Linked DNA regions of Homo sapiens: all the other regions are linked to region 2. The links are contacts of gene promoters, found by promoter capture Hi-C in blood cells and fetal thymus (Javierre and others, 2016). All regions are on one chromosome and are shown on one strand. Each heading gives the region's core, a stretch centred on a gene start or on the middle of the fragment in contact. The rest is flanking DNA. Distances are from core to core; before and after follow the strand shown.

Region 1 (2,764 bases), core at 95-2,594, 160 kb before region 2:
CAAAGAAAGTGGTTTCTCGAGATGGAATCTACCCCTGGTGAAGACACTGTAAACATTGTTGAAATGACAACAAAGGATTTAGAATATTGCATAAATTCAGGTGATAAAGCATCGGCAGGGTTGGAAAGGATTGACCTCAATTTTGAAAGTCCTGTTGTGGGTAAAATGCCATCACATGACATCACATGCTGCAGATAAATCTTTTGTGAAAGAAAGAGTCAACAAATGTGGCAAACTTCATTTTTGTCCTATTTTAAGAAATTGCCACAACCTTCAGCAACCACCACCTTGATGTCAGCAGCCAAATACATTGAGATGAGACCCTCTACCAGCAAATAATTAGTACTGGCTAAAGGCTCAGATGATTATTAGCATTTTTTGGCAGTAAAGTATTTTTGAAATTAAGGTATCTATATTTTTTAACACAATGCTATTGCAAACTTAACAGACTATAGTATATTCTAAACATAACATGTACATCTGCTGGGAAACAAATTCATGTGACTTGATTGCCTGGGTCTGAAAACAAAGTTGCAATTTCTCCAACATATGCCTATATATTAATGAAATATATAAAAAGCAATGTAAATTAGAAGACTGAAAAGAACCATTGGAATATAGCACAAAACTGAAATTATATATGTTAATTGGATGTTTTTTTTTTGACCTGTGTGGTATTATTTTCAATTTTGTAAAATATTCCACTTGTTACTTTTGCTTTTCCACTAGTTTTTTTCCTTGTACATTTCTTGAATTATGACATTTCTGGAATCAACCACTAAGCACATTTAGTCAAACGTGTGTGGCCCACAGTTGGTGTGGTTAATACTAAGGGCACTGTGACATAAATTCAAGTAGCCTCAATACCATTTGCGTAATTTGTTTTAACAGATGGATTTTCTTTTTAAATTTTTTGCAGTTATGGCTTAAGGAGAGTTTAAAATTTTCTTTTAGGCTATAAGGCAACCAGAAAGAATTAGACAGTTTTTGTATTGGATTGTTCTTCTCTTTTCTCTTCCACTTCACTTTGTTCATGAAATTTGCTGTTGCTATTTTAGCAAAGTTCAACATCTAAAGAATTTATGCCATTTGGCTGCCATGACACAGATATAAATTATGTTTGTTTTACCACATTCCATAGTGAGGTAGGTGGTGTATGTCTTCTCATATATCTTGAAAATATATGTAAAATTTAATTTTAAAGACAACTTAAACTTTAAAATAATTATTTTTCATTAACTACTCAAGCTTATTTATCCTGACATATGAAATATATTTTCATGATATATTCTTAAACTTTTCTAGCATTCATATTCTCTATGCATATTTGGATGTGTACGTGTTTTTGGCATATTGGGGAAGAGATAGTTAATCCTGCAAGTTGTGGATCTAGAGTTTGTATTAAAATTATTATTTAGGAAGAGTACATTTTTAAGCTTAATATTTGAACAGTTTGTCAAATGTCACTTTATTTTAAATATAAGCCAAAAGTATTTTTGAATTAAGCTCCATAAGTGGGTTGAAATTTGGTAAATTAAACATTATTGTGAATTTTAAACATTTTTAGGCATTCTCCTTTGAGATTTGTTTACTATTTATATTGGCTTTATACATTTTAAAATGAGCAGTCACTTTTCTGTCTGTCTGTTCATGTGCCAACATCAACATTGAATTTATCAAGTAGTTATTTATACAATGTTTAGACAGGCAAAATGAAATGGAGAAGTGGGGCAATTATCTGTAGATCCCACCCACACAACTTTCAGCAACTCTAGAGAAAATGGTGTGGTTGTCCAGAACAATTGAGTTTTGTTGGCTGTGCCCTGAACATTTAGTCAATTACACAATTCTTCGTGTCCTTTAGCCTGTGTTTCTACAGTCCCTGTCTGACCTCAGCTGCTCATGGTAGTCTTCTGTGGTCCTTAATTAACTATGAAGATTATCTCAGCAAAATCAAGCTGTAGGGGTCTTTGTCCATGGAATGTTAAGGACCATTTCATCTATGGCATAATCCATTTTAATGGCCATAGAGAGAGATTTTATGAAGATATAGCCACACTTAGAAATTAACTGCCTGGCGCGGTGGCTCACGCCTGTAATCCCAGCACTTTGGGAGGCCGAGGCGGGAGGATCACGAGGTCGGGAGATTGAGACCATCCTGGCTAACACGGTGAAACCCCATCTCTAACTAAAAATACAAAAAAAAATTAGCCAGGTGTGGTGGCGGGTGCCTGTAGTCCCAGCTACTCAGGAGGCTGAGACAGGAGAATGGCGTGAACCCAGGAGCAGTGAGCTGAGATCGCACCACTGCACTCCAGCCTGGGTGACAGAGCAAGACTCCGTCTCAGAAAAAAGAAAAAAAAGAAAAAGAAATGAGAAATTAACACTTTAAAAAAGGTATATAGTGTTAGGATTTGAAGTTTTAAAATAAAACACCATGGCATGCATAGTTTTTGGAAGCCAAACAAATTCTAAATACACTGGTATTCAAACTTTTAAGATGTAGAGATTTAGTAATTCATTAGTATTAATTATTGAATAATTGCTACTTATGTTTTAGTGTCAGTTTTTATTCATTGATCCAGTCCTGCAGAAGAGACTTTGGAAGCATTAACTGCATCTTGCATTTCAACTCAGGAGAAGTTCATTTTAATTACTAAGGAGTAGTTGCAAAATAGGTTCAAGGCCACTCCCAAAATAAACCTACCAAGTTTGAGAAGTGAAAATTACACTTTTTGCTATTATTCTAATTTTTAAACTTCTA
Region 2 (2,700 bases), core at 101-2,600:
TGGCACTTAAACTTTTTTTTTAAACTTATAATGGGAATAATTAACATTTATTGTGCAAGTATTATGTGCTAAGCAGTCAACTGATAGGATTTATTACTGTCCTTTTCCACAGTCCCAAGAGATGGACACCATTAATTTTTACAAATAAGGAACAGACTCACAGAGTTTGAGAAACTTTGGGATCACTCAACTAGTAGGAGTTCAGTCCGGATTTAGAACAAGGGACTATCTGCTTTTAGAGCCCAAGACCTTAACATCTCATTCCTCAACTCATTAAATGCGGAAGGTTCACTAACCACGTGCAGGGCGGGGTGCTAGCCCCTGGGGATACAAAATGATCAAGAAAAGGACGCCATCATACTAAATCAGTAAAGGAAACAGATAAAGAAATCCTCATAAAACAGCGGATTGGGTGGGACGATAACAATCTGTGCTTGGTACAGAGGTAGCTCCTGGGAAGGGAAGAACTCAGACCCAGAAATCAGAAACGCAAACTGGCAGTGGCAGGCGAACCTGACGCCTGCAGGGCTGCGGCGAAACCGCGTATGCCACACCGAGGGAATGGCAGCTGGAAAGAGAGGCACGCGACAGGCCTAAGGAGACCCGTGGCACGTAGCAGCTGCCCCCGGAACAGCGCCTGGGGGCTCTGCAGGCGCTGACCAGTTTCCCGGAGGCGGCGGCCGCGGACCCAGCACGGTCACCGTCGCCGCTGCCGAGAAGAGCCGTCGGGTCGCGATGGGTGGACAGGCCTTCCGGGGGAGCGTCGCCCGGCACATACCCTGACAGTCCCGACCGCAGACGCCAGGGATGGGACAGGCTCCCGGGGAGCATCTCCTGTTCCTCCTCCCTGACCGGCCTTCTTAGGCGCTGGGGAGGGGCCGGACTCCCGAGAAGCGTCCACTCGGCCACCCTCCCCGGCAGGCCCGACTTCAGACGCCGCGCGCCGGGACAGAGCGCCCGGGGAGGGTCCCCAACGCAGATGCCCGGTTGCTGGGCGCGAGGGGCTCGGCCCCTGAAAAGGCCGCAGAACTGCGCTGGAAATGAATAAAAGCAGCCCGGTTTGAAACCAAGGCCGACGCAGGGCTTGGGAGGAGAGGCAAAGGAAAACCCTTACCTCATGATGGCAGCGCTCTGCAGGCCGTCCGGGCGGCGCAGTCCCTCGGATCGCTCTCTCCTCAGCACCGGGGACCGCGGGAAGCCGCGCGGTGGGCGTGCGCGTGCGCGTGCGCGCGCCAGGCCTCTGCAGCCCCTGGACTCGGCCGCGCGGCGTGTCTTTGTTAAAGGAGAGACCCCAGCCCCAGCAAGAACAGGAAACTGGAGATTGAATCAGATGCCGAGCGCTCAGAAACTGAAACTTAAGAAATCGAAACTAAACGTAAGCTTCAGAAACCGAAACTTAATAGAAGAGCTCAAGAGCCGCGGCCAGACGTTTGCGGAGTCCAGGGTCTTTCGGAGTTGAATTTGCAGCTGGGCTCCTTCACTTTGGTCTCGGCTTTTATCTGCCTCCCTGAGTACGCTGAGTTCGCATGCTGCCCGTGTAACTGTTTGTTTGTTTGTTTGTTTGTTTGAGATAGCGTCTCACTGTGTCACCCAGTCGTGATCTCAAGGGATGCGCCCGCCTCTGCCTCCCAAGGTGCTGGGATTACAGGCGGAAACTTAAGTCCCTGCTTCCACTCCAGTCTTTTGATTCAACAAGCAACACTGCAATGCTATACATCTATGCTGTTATTTCTGTTGGGTGTAAACTGAGAAATTTGGAGCTAAAATCTATATACATTTTAAGTTTTGACGGATATTGCCAAATAGCTTTAAAAATCCACTCTTACCCACAATTGTAGGAGACTGCTTCTCTTCCATACCTTCGCCAATGGTGCTTTGTAATAAGGACCCAATAAAGACAAGAGTGGTATTGGGGATCTAGGCAGAAAATGTCAAACACCCATACCTTAAACATTTTGTCCCCTTTGAATTCATTCAGCAAATATTGACAAACAACTGTAAGAGCCAGACTTTGTTCAAAGTACTGTCAATATAACAATAAAGAAAACAGACACGGGCCTTACCCTTATTGAGTTAATGTCTGTATTCAAAACCTCAATATCCTGTCCATAATTCATCTTTTGCATTGATTTTGGTTTTTTTTTTTTTTTTGAGACAGGGTCTCACTCTGTCACTCAGGTTGGAGTGCAGTGGTGAGATGACAGCTCACTGCAGCCTCAACCTTCATGGCTCAAGCGATCCTCCCACCTCAGCCTCCTGAGTGGCTGGGACTATATGCGTGCACCACTATGTCGGGCTAATTAATTTATTTTTTGTAGAGGCGGGGTTTTGCCATGTTGCCCAGGCTGGTCTCCAACACCTGGGCACAAATATTTTTCTAAACCTTAAATATTGTTCCGCCCATCGTGGCCTCCCAAAATGCTGGGATTACAGGCATGAGCCACTATGCTTGGCCTGATTTTGAATTTTTAAAAACATATTGCATTGAAATATTGTCTACCTTGATCACTGAGCTTCTGGCACCCCACCCCTCAAAACTTAGTGCCTGAAGCGAGTGCCTCATTTAAAGCAATCACTTCTAACAGTTGTACTGTCTTATACAGAAACTGCTGGTCACCTGTGGCTATTAAGAACCTGATTTTTAATTTAATATAAATTTAAAAACTGATAAGTTAATAGAAAACTTACATTTGGAATAAC
Region 3 (2,700 bases), core at 1-2,500, 200 kb after region 2:
ATTGTTTTTGGCACGGCTAATTAATGTTTTCTGAGTCTTTTGTAAAGTGTCACATAAAAGCAGCTTCAATGACCCCTTCCAATACCAAACTCCTCCTGAAGAGATACTTACCTTGGAACCAACCCTGGCCCTTTTCTGCTCAGTTTGGCTGTAACTTGCTTTTTATCCCTAGCTAGCCTTGTCTTGACTTTTCTGAGACTGAATTTTTAATCTTCAGTCTTTAAAATGAAGGATTAGATTTTGATATTCGAGATCATTCCACCTCTATGAGTCTTCCCTGTTACACAACACTACACATCTCTAATAGCCAGGAACAGTTTTGATTAAACAGATGCCCAAATGGCCTTACCTAATTTGAGAAAGAAAAAGAAATTCATAAAGGTCATTTAAAAAAGGGATTATGTGATTGATGGCAGGCTTTGCTAACTACATGTTCTATTTGCTGGGGGAAGGGGAGCAGCATCCACAGTCTTTTGGTAAGTTGGTGCCACATAACTTTGAGATTGTGATGAGTGTGCACAAACTTGACTGTTGTACTCTCAGAAAAGTGATTTGACCCCTGTGATAAGCAGAAAATAAAAGATTCCTGTCCTCCAACTCCGCCAGAAAAACCATACTAAGATAAAAACCATATGCAGGAAGCCATGATCAACTGGAGAAGAGATGGCGTGGCCAAAGTTCTAATGCTACCTGTCAGAAAACACCCCCTTTTGCGGAAAACCATCAATTGGACAAGAAATGGTGTGGCCAAAGTTCTAATCAGAAAACACCCCGTTTTAGGGAAAACCATCTTTACAGGTGGGTAGATCCAAACTACATCAAGCAGTACTCCAGAAAAAAAAAAAAGATTTGTTTTTTAGCCTCAATTTAGAGCTAATGTCCTTTAAAATGAATCTTGAGTCCACAAATATCTTTTGAACACTCATTACATACAAGATGCAATGCTTGGCACTGTGAGAAGAAGTCCTAGAAGATACACCCTGTGCTCTAAAAAGACCTATTCATCTAGCAAGCTATTACATTTTTGTGCAAATAAAAACTGTTTAAAGGTGCGCATGTGCCAAATTCAAGAAATGATACCACCTTAGTCAGCACTTGATAGTGTTCAATTTTATTTTGGTCCATTAAGTGATGCTGTTTTTGGTTACCTGACATATTGTTCAGCATTCCACATGATATAGAGTGGAGAACTAACAGGACTGTAATTCATCAATTTCCCTGGGATGGTTGCATTTGTATGTTAGACAAAAACTTCTGTCCTGGTCAGCTGCAAGTGCAGAGATGGCAGAGAAGCTAGTTGCTATCCTTCAAAGTGCCACAAAGTCACGGGGGAGAGTATGGACAAAGCAGGCTGAAGCCAGCGCTCTCAAGTTTTGCTGCCCACGGCCTTCTGTAATTGGCACATGGACATTATTCTAACAGCGATAGACGGTGGATACACCAAAGCAGAAAATGAATGGGTTGGTTGGGGCTGGGGACTCAAAGGAGACAGTCTTGACAGCAAATCTAGCAGCTAAATCCAAATTAAGCAAACCTGCTAATGCCACTCACTTAAAAAAAAAATCTTTCTTGCTCTCGCAACCAGAGCACCCAAGCATGATAACTGAGACCACAAGAAAAGGACAATGTGTGCTGAAAGGAAATTTGAGGGCTAACTTCTGTTGAGGGTAAATTTGAGTGATATTTTACTTATGAGCAGAAATCCAATTTTAATGTTGAGAAAGTGAGCTCTAATGGTCCGTTTGGAGCAGTGAGAAGGACGCTCTTCTCTGAAACACTGCATCAAGGACAAGACCACGTCTAGCCGGAATGAGAAGAAAAGTTTCTGGTTTACCCTAAAAGTGAAGTGAAAACAACACTGGGGAAGGGAGGAGATGTTGTGGGGGGTGGGGGCGCATGGGCGGTAGAGGTGGAGAGCCTTGGAAGGACAGGTTGTTTAACTGGAAGCAACTAGGGGCCTACATTATACCTATTTTCTGCTATCATCTAGAAATCAAAGCAGCAGCATTAGAAAAATTCACCCTTGTTCCCTTTTTGTATTGGCTGTCAAGAAACTCAACACTGCTTCTGAACCTTTATCTCATCAACAGCAAATATGTCAGCAGAATATAATAATGTTTTCATAGTACCCTGGGTTAAATAAAAAGGCTGCTGTAGGGCTAGAGGCTACTGCTGAGGGCTCCTGGGAATGAGCATCTAAGGAATGTCAGTATTCCATCAGTGGCAGTTAGTGGACACACACCAGTTAGGAGATTCTGAATTACAAATTGGCCTATTATATGTATCTATATCTTATATATTACATATTATGAATTGGCATATTATATATATCATATGTATGCATATATACCATATATGATCTTAGTTTTAGGCCCATATATTGGTCCATATTTTTGTAGTACTTGTTCTTTCCTCATAATAGATGGCGTTATATCTTTTATTTCTCTTTACATAATCTTACTTGATTTTAATTTCAAATTTCTCAGTTATTCTTTAGGTAACGTGTGGAGTACAAATTTAAAATACCATGCATATTACTTGGTGTGTTTGCTGTGTGCTAGGACCTATGATTTTACTGCTGTAAACCCACAGCAATAATAATAATCCTACTTCTTGGCAGGGTGAGGAAGCCAGCTTTTTTGAGGATTGGATAAAATCAATTCAGATAAAACATTTAGCCAATGCGTGGCACCTAGTAGG
Region 4 (2,700 bases), core at 40-2,539, 140 kb after region 2:
CAGCCCACGAGCTGTAGTGTGTTAACCTTTGCTCTCTGGCCCTATGAATTCTTCATGTTCACAGAGCATCTTGAAGAAATGAGGCCCAATAAAATACCTGGTTTTATTTCAAATCTGCCTTCTTGCTGTAAATGACCTACAGCTCAGGAATATCTCAATGAATACCCACACATGTTATCTGTCTTTACATCGGCTAAAACCTTTGACTAGATTATGAGTACTGTCCTGTCAGTTGTGATTCTTCTTTCCCTAGCAGGCTCCTCACAGCTCCCCAATTCACAATATTTTTCTCAGCACAACACTTTCCAGGGTGTCAAAATGTTCTTAACCATCAGCTCTGTTTTCTCAGAGCCTTTGTTGATGCTTTACAGAAGCCTAGGTAAATTGGGTTCCAGTGCTCCTGGTCTCCTGAGCTCCTGCTACATTGACACTGTGTTTATGCCACTTGTGTTGATCCAGATGTGATATTAACTTCCCAGTACCCCCAAAACAGTCACACATAGTGCCACAAATGCTTCCTCTGGCTCATCCAGCAACCCCTACCTCTGACTCCATTTCCATTTTTCCAGAGGACACTCAGCTCATCCTCTCATCTTCCTCCTATAATGAGGGACAATATGTTCTACTCTGACTCTAGAAAATGTATCAAGTTAATTTCTTTTACAAAAAACAAAGAGAAAAATAGAAAGGAATTCCTTATGCTTCCCTCCCCTCCACCAAAAGAGGAATTCTGATGTTAACTGTTTAGTCTTCATTTCTAAGACAGGGCACAAGGTTGTAGCTAGTGTTTATAACTTCTTTCTTTTACCTATCTTCAGAGTGACCAGACAACCTACAGAATGGGAGAAACTTTTTGCAATCTATGCAGCTGACAAAGGTCTAATATCCAGCATCTGTAAGGAACACATTTATAAGAAAAAAACAACTCCATTAAAAAGTGGGCAAAGGACATGAACAAACACTTCTCAAAAGAAGACATACATGCAGACAACAATCAAGTGAAAAAAGCTCAACATTACTGTTCATTAGAGAAATGCAAATTAAAACCACAATGAAATATCATCTCACGCCAGTCACAATGGCTGTTAATAAAACGTCCAAAAATAATAGATGCTGGCGAGGTTGTAGAGAGAAAGGAACACTTTTACACTGTTGGTGGGAGTGTAAATTAGTTCAGCCATTGTGGAAGACAGTGTGGTGATTCCCCAAAGACCTAAAGGCAGAAATACCATTCAACCCAACAATCCCATTACCGGGTATGTACCCAGAGGAGTATAAATCATTCTATTATAAAGACACATGCACGTATATGTTCATTGCAGCACTATTCACAATAGAAAAGACATGGAATCAACCTAAATGCCCCTATGATAGATTAGATAAAGAAAATGTTGTACACATACACTATGGAATACTACGCAGCAATAAAAAGGAATGTGATCATGTCTTTTGCAGGGACAAGGATGGAGCTGGAGGCCATTATCCTTAGCAAACTAACACAGGAACAGAAAACCAAATACCGCATGTTCTCACTTATAAGAGGGAGCTAAATGATGAGAACACATGGACACATAGAGGGGAACAATGCACATTGGAGCTTACTGGAGGGCAGGGGGTGGGAGGAGGGAGAGGATCAGGAAAAATAACTAATGGGTACTACGCTTAATACCTGGATGGTGAAAGAATCTGTACAATCAACCCCCATAACACACATTTACCTATGTAACAAACCTGAACATTGTGCATATGTGCCCCTGAGCTTAAAACAAAAGTTTTTTTTAAATTTTTTTTTTTTAAGACAGAGTCTCACTCTGTGTGCCCAGGCTGGAGTGCAGTGGTGCAATCTTGGCTCACTGCAGCCTCAGCCTACCAGGCACAAGTGATCCTCCCACTGCAGCCTCCTGAGTAGCTGAGACTACAGGTGCGTGACAATGTATCTGGTTAGTTTTTGTGGGTTTTTTTTTTTGTAGAGTTGGGGTTTTGATATGTTGTCCAGGCTGGTCTCAAACCCCTGAGGCTCAAATGATCTGCCGGCTTTGGCCTCCCAAACTGTTGGGATTACAAGCGTAAGCCACTGAGCCCAGCCTATGACTTCCTTCTTTTACCACCTGTTCCATATTACACTTGCCCTTGGCAAACACTGGTTCTTGTCATGACTCCTTATCTGGTGAGCTGTCCCATACCTTCATTCTTAAAGGGTCACTGCCATTAGCAGTCCTCACTGCATTGAATTGTTTTCATTTTAATATTGATTTCAGGATATGGAAATACAAAGAGGCACCCCAGAAGACCTCCTGCAAGCCACCATACTCCTCCTTACCCTCACTGTGTGGTAGCAACCCCATTTTCCCTTCATAGCCAGGATAAATCACCCATCAGAACAATAATCACCTTTTTTAAGCCTGCTGGTTAATTAGCATAAGGAGTACAAAGTGGCTGGGGACAGTTTTACTTTCCAGGTTAATGAAGCTACAAATCAATGTAAATCCATCACTCTGGTCATCTCTCCTTCTAGGAACAATGAACATCCAGGTGAACCGTTCAAAGCTCTTTCCACTGGGGGAATGTCCCATAACCACTGTCCTTCAGAATCATCCCTAAATGTGACAGGAGTACTGCATTGGCCATTTTTGGGTGATGCCAGTGTATTGTGCAGAACCATCTATAAAGTAGACCAAATAGTCTCTTCCTCAGTCAACT
Region 5 (2,809 bases), core at 297-2,796, 180 kb after region 2:
TTAAAAACAATTTGCTAGTTATCAAATCTATATTAGGACATTAGCAGAAATGAACATTTGTCAATTCACTTATAGTCTTATCATCTGGACAAATCATTCTTCTCATTTTTCCTTGGTATTTTACACTCCTCTTTGGTGTACATTAATTTTGCACAGCTGTAATTTAGAGTAGTCTATAATTTTGTATTTTGCTTTTTTTTCCTTTGCAAGGTATAAGCTTTTCTATGCTGTCACTGTCCTTGTCATGGTTGATGGATAATTATTATACCAAGTGGATTTCAATGAATTATTTGACCACTTGACAATTAGCTTATTTCCAGTTTTTCACTGTTATAAAGAATGAGCAGAGGGCAAAGGAAGCTCTCATTTGTTCACTGTGACCCGTGTGTCAGTCACTATACTGGATACTTACCTCACTTATTCCTCTTAACAATTATTTTTGGAACTGAGACGCAGACTGGTTAAGCAACTTAATAGTATGAGTTGATATATAGTGAACTCTTACTGTGTGTCAGACTCTTTGCTACCTACTTTTCATATAATATCTCATATCTCACTGTGTCCTATAAAATGTGTATTATCATTTCTACTCTTCAGGGAATTATATTAATTTTAGGAGATGTTTCCCCAAGGTGTCATGTTAGAACTTGGAGAGGACAGAGTTGAGCCTAGGTTTGTTTGAGCTGTCTAAAACTCATGATCGGGCTGGGCGTGGTGGCTCACACCTGTAAACCCCGCACTTTGGGAAGCCGAGGTGGGTGGATCGCTTGAGTCCAGGAGTTTGAGACCAGCCTGGGAACATGGTGAAACACTGTCTCTACAAAAAACACAAAAATTAGCTGGGTGTGTTGGTGCACGCCTGAAATCCCAACTACTCAGGAGGTTGAGATGGAAGGATCACTTGAGCCCAGAAGGTGGAGGTTGCTGTGAGCAGAGATCACGCCACTGCACTCCATCCTGGGTCACAGAGCAACATCCTATCTCAATCAATCAATCAATCAAATAAGTGGATAAAACTCATGGTCAGTATAATGTCAGCTCCATGGAGGTACTTTTTTTCCTCTTGTTTTTGTTCTCTGCTGTGTTCTCAGTGCTGAGAAGAAGGCCTGGCACATAGTTGGTACTCAATAAAGGCTTGTTTCATGAATAACTGAATGGTCTCAGCGTTAGGTAAGCAGCTTGAGGTCAGGTTTCTTTGGCTCCCACATCTTTGTTTTTTCTGCTATATCACTGTCTCGGGTACAGGTGAGTAGAAAATAAATTCTCACAGGCAGACACAGACACATATATTTATGAATTTGTGTGTGTGAGCCTTTTTATCTATTTAACTTTTATTCAGCTTTAAAAATTTTTATTAAATTTTATTTTTTAAAGCAGTTTTAAGTTCATAGCAAAATTGAGTGGAAGGTACAGAGATTTCCCATACACCCTCTGCCCCCACACTCCCCTGTTATGAACATCCCTCACAGAGTGGAATTGTAATTGTTACAGCTGATGAACCTACATTCACACAAAGTCCGTAGTTTACATTAGGGTTCCCTTTTTTTTTTTTTTTTGAGACTGAGTCTCCCTCTGTCCCCTAGGCTGGAGTGCAGCAGTGCAATCTTGGCTCACTGCAACCTCTGCCTCCCGGGTTCAAGCAATTCTCCTGCCTCAGCTTCCTGAATAGCTGGGATTACAGGTGTGGGGCACCACACCCAGCTACCTTTTTTGTATTTTTAGTAGAGACAGGGTTTCGCCATGTTGGCCAGGCTAGTCTCGAACTACTGACCTCAAGTGATCCACTCGCCTCAGCCTCCCAAAGTGCTGGGATTGCAGGCATGAACCACCACACCCGGCCACTACAGTTCACTCTTGATGTTGTATATTCTATAGTTTTGGACAAATGTATGATGGCATGTGTCTACCTCTATAGTATCATGCAGAGTAGTCTTACTGCCCTGAAAAATCCTCTTTACTCTGTCTATGAATTCCTTCCTCCCTCCTAACCCCTGGCAACCAGGATCTTTTTTACTCTCTCTATAGTTTTGTCTTTTCCAGCATGTCATATAGAATGCAGCCTTTACAGATCTTGGTAATATGTATTTAAGGTTCCTCTACATCTTTTTGTGGCTTGATAGCTCATTTCCTTTTAGGGCTGAGTAATACTCCATTGTCTGGATGTAGCACAGTTTAGTTATGCATTCATTTACTGGAGCACATCTTGGTTGCTTCTAAATTTTGGCAATTATGAGTAAAACTACTATAGACATCTGTATGCAGGTTTTTGTGTAGATGTAAGTTTTCAACTCCTTTGGGTAAAATACCAAGGAATGTGATTGCTGGATTATATGGTAAGAGTATGTTTAGTTTTGTAAGAAACTGCCAAACTTTTCCAGTGTGGTGCTACCAGTTTGCATTTCCACCAGCAATGAATGAGAGTTCCTGTTCCTCCACATCCTCTTCAGCAGTTGGTGTTTTCAGCGTTTTTGGATGTTGCTCATTCTGATACGTGTATAGTGATGTCTCATTATGTGTGATCTTTTTCTTTCCTTTTGTTTATTTTGTTAGGAATTATTGTGAGAAATGCAATTACGAAAGCAAATTGTAAAAACATTTTATAAGAAAAAAATTGTAAAAACATTTTATAATTTCTTAAAAATATATTGATTTTTGTTTTTGCTGCTTACATAAGTGTGTCTTGTTAGTGGACATGCAAAAAATGGTCCAGTTTCACTGCTACCTTGCCAGTGCTGTTTTAAAAAAATTCTTTACTAACATTATATGTGAGTACATCACTATGTCAATCTTTCAATTTATTTCTAGTTCA

Evidence for each region. The method cuts DNA at HindIII sites, captures the fragments that hold promoters and counts their contacts. A CHiCAGO score of 5 or more calls a contact.
Region 1: a contact is called between a fragment that was not itself captured here and the fragment with the promoter of IFIT5 in region 2, in 4 of 17 cell types (megakaryocytes, M0 macrophages, M1 macrophages and 1 more). The highest score is 8.2, in megakaryocytes.
Region 3: a fragment that was not itself captured here is called in contact with the fragment with the promoter of IFIT5 in region 2 in 1 of 17 cell types (neutrophils); the score reaches 7.5 in neutrophils.
Region 4: a contact is called between a fragment that was not itself captured here and the fragment with the promoter of IFIT5 in region 2, in 5 of 17 cell types (erythroblasts, neutrophils, megakaryocytes and 2 more). The highest score is 7.2, in erythroblasts.
Region 5: a contact is called between a fragment that was not itself captured here and the fragment with the promoter of IFIT5 in region 2, in 1 of 17 cell types (erythroblasts). The highest score is 5.7, in erythroblasts.

Annotation. Positions count from the first base shown.
Region 1 is chr10:89,573,575-89,576,338 of GRCh38, reverse strand. No RefSeq gene overlaps it. Among named protein-coding and RNA genes, the nearest start is that of MIR107, 18 kb to the left of the region's middle. The HindIII fragment of the contact is 188 bases long and covers 1,251-1,438 here.
Region 2 is chr10:89,413,218-89,415,917 of GRCh38, reverse strand. IFIT5 (interferon induced protein with tetratricopeptide repeats 5) reads right to left here and starts at 1,350. Exons shown (of 2, transcript NM_012420.3): 1 at 1,115-1,350. The coding sequence starts at 1,119. It also overlaps a transcript of LIPA not described here. RefSeq lists enhancers at 304-373, 474-573, 1,184-1,493. The HindIII fragment of the contact is 3,334 bases long and covers 1-1,382 here.
Region 3 is chr10:89,208,805-89,211,504 of GRCh38, reverse strand. No RefSeq gene overlaps it. Among named protein-coding and RNA genes, the nearest start is that of CH25H, 2.8 kb to the right of the region's middle. The HindIII fragment of the contact is 3,077 bases long and covers 1-2,700 here.
Region 4 is chr10:89,271,166-89,273,865 of GRCh38, reverse strand. It overlaps a transcript of LIPA not described here. Among named protein-coding and RNA genes, the nearest start is that of LIPA, 21 kb to the right of the region's middle. The HindIII fragment of the contact is 5,893 bases long and covers 1-2,700 here.
Region 5 is chr10:89,228,500-89,231,308 of GRCh38, reverse strand. All of the region lies in intron 3 of LIPA (lipase A, lysosomal acid type), which reads left to right. Among named protein-coding and RNA genes, the nearest start is that of LIPA, 22 kb to the left of the region's middle. The HindIII fragment of the contact is 2,654 bases long and covers 220-2,809 here.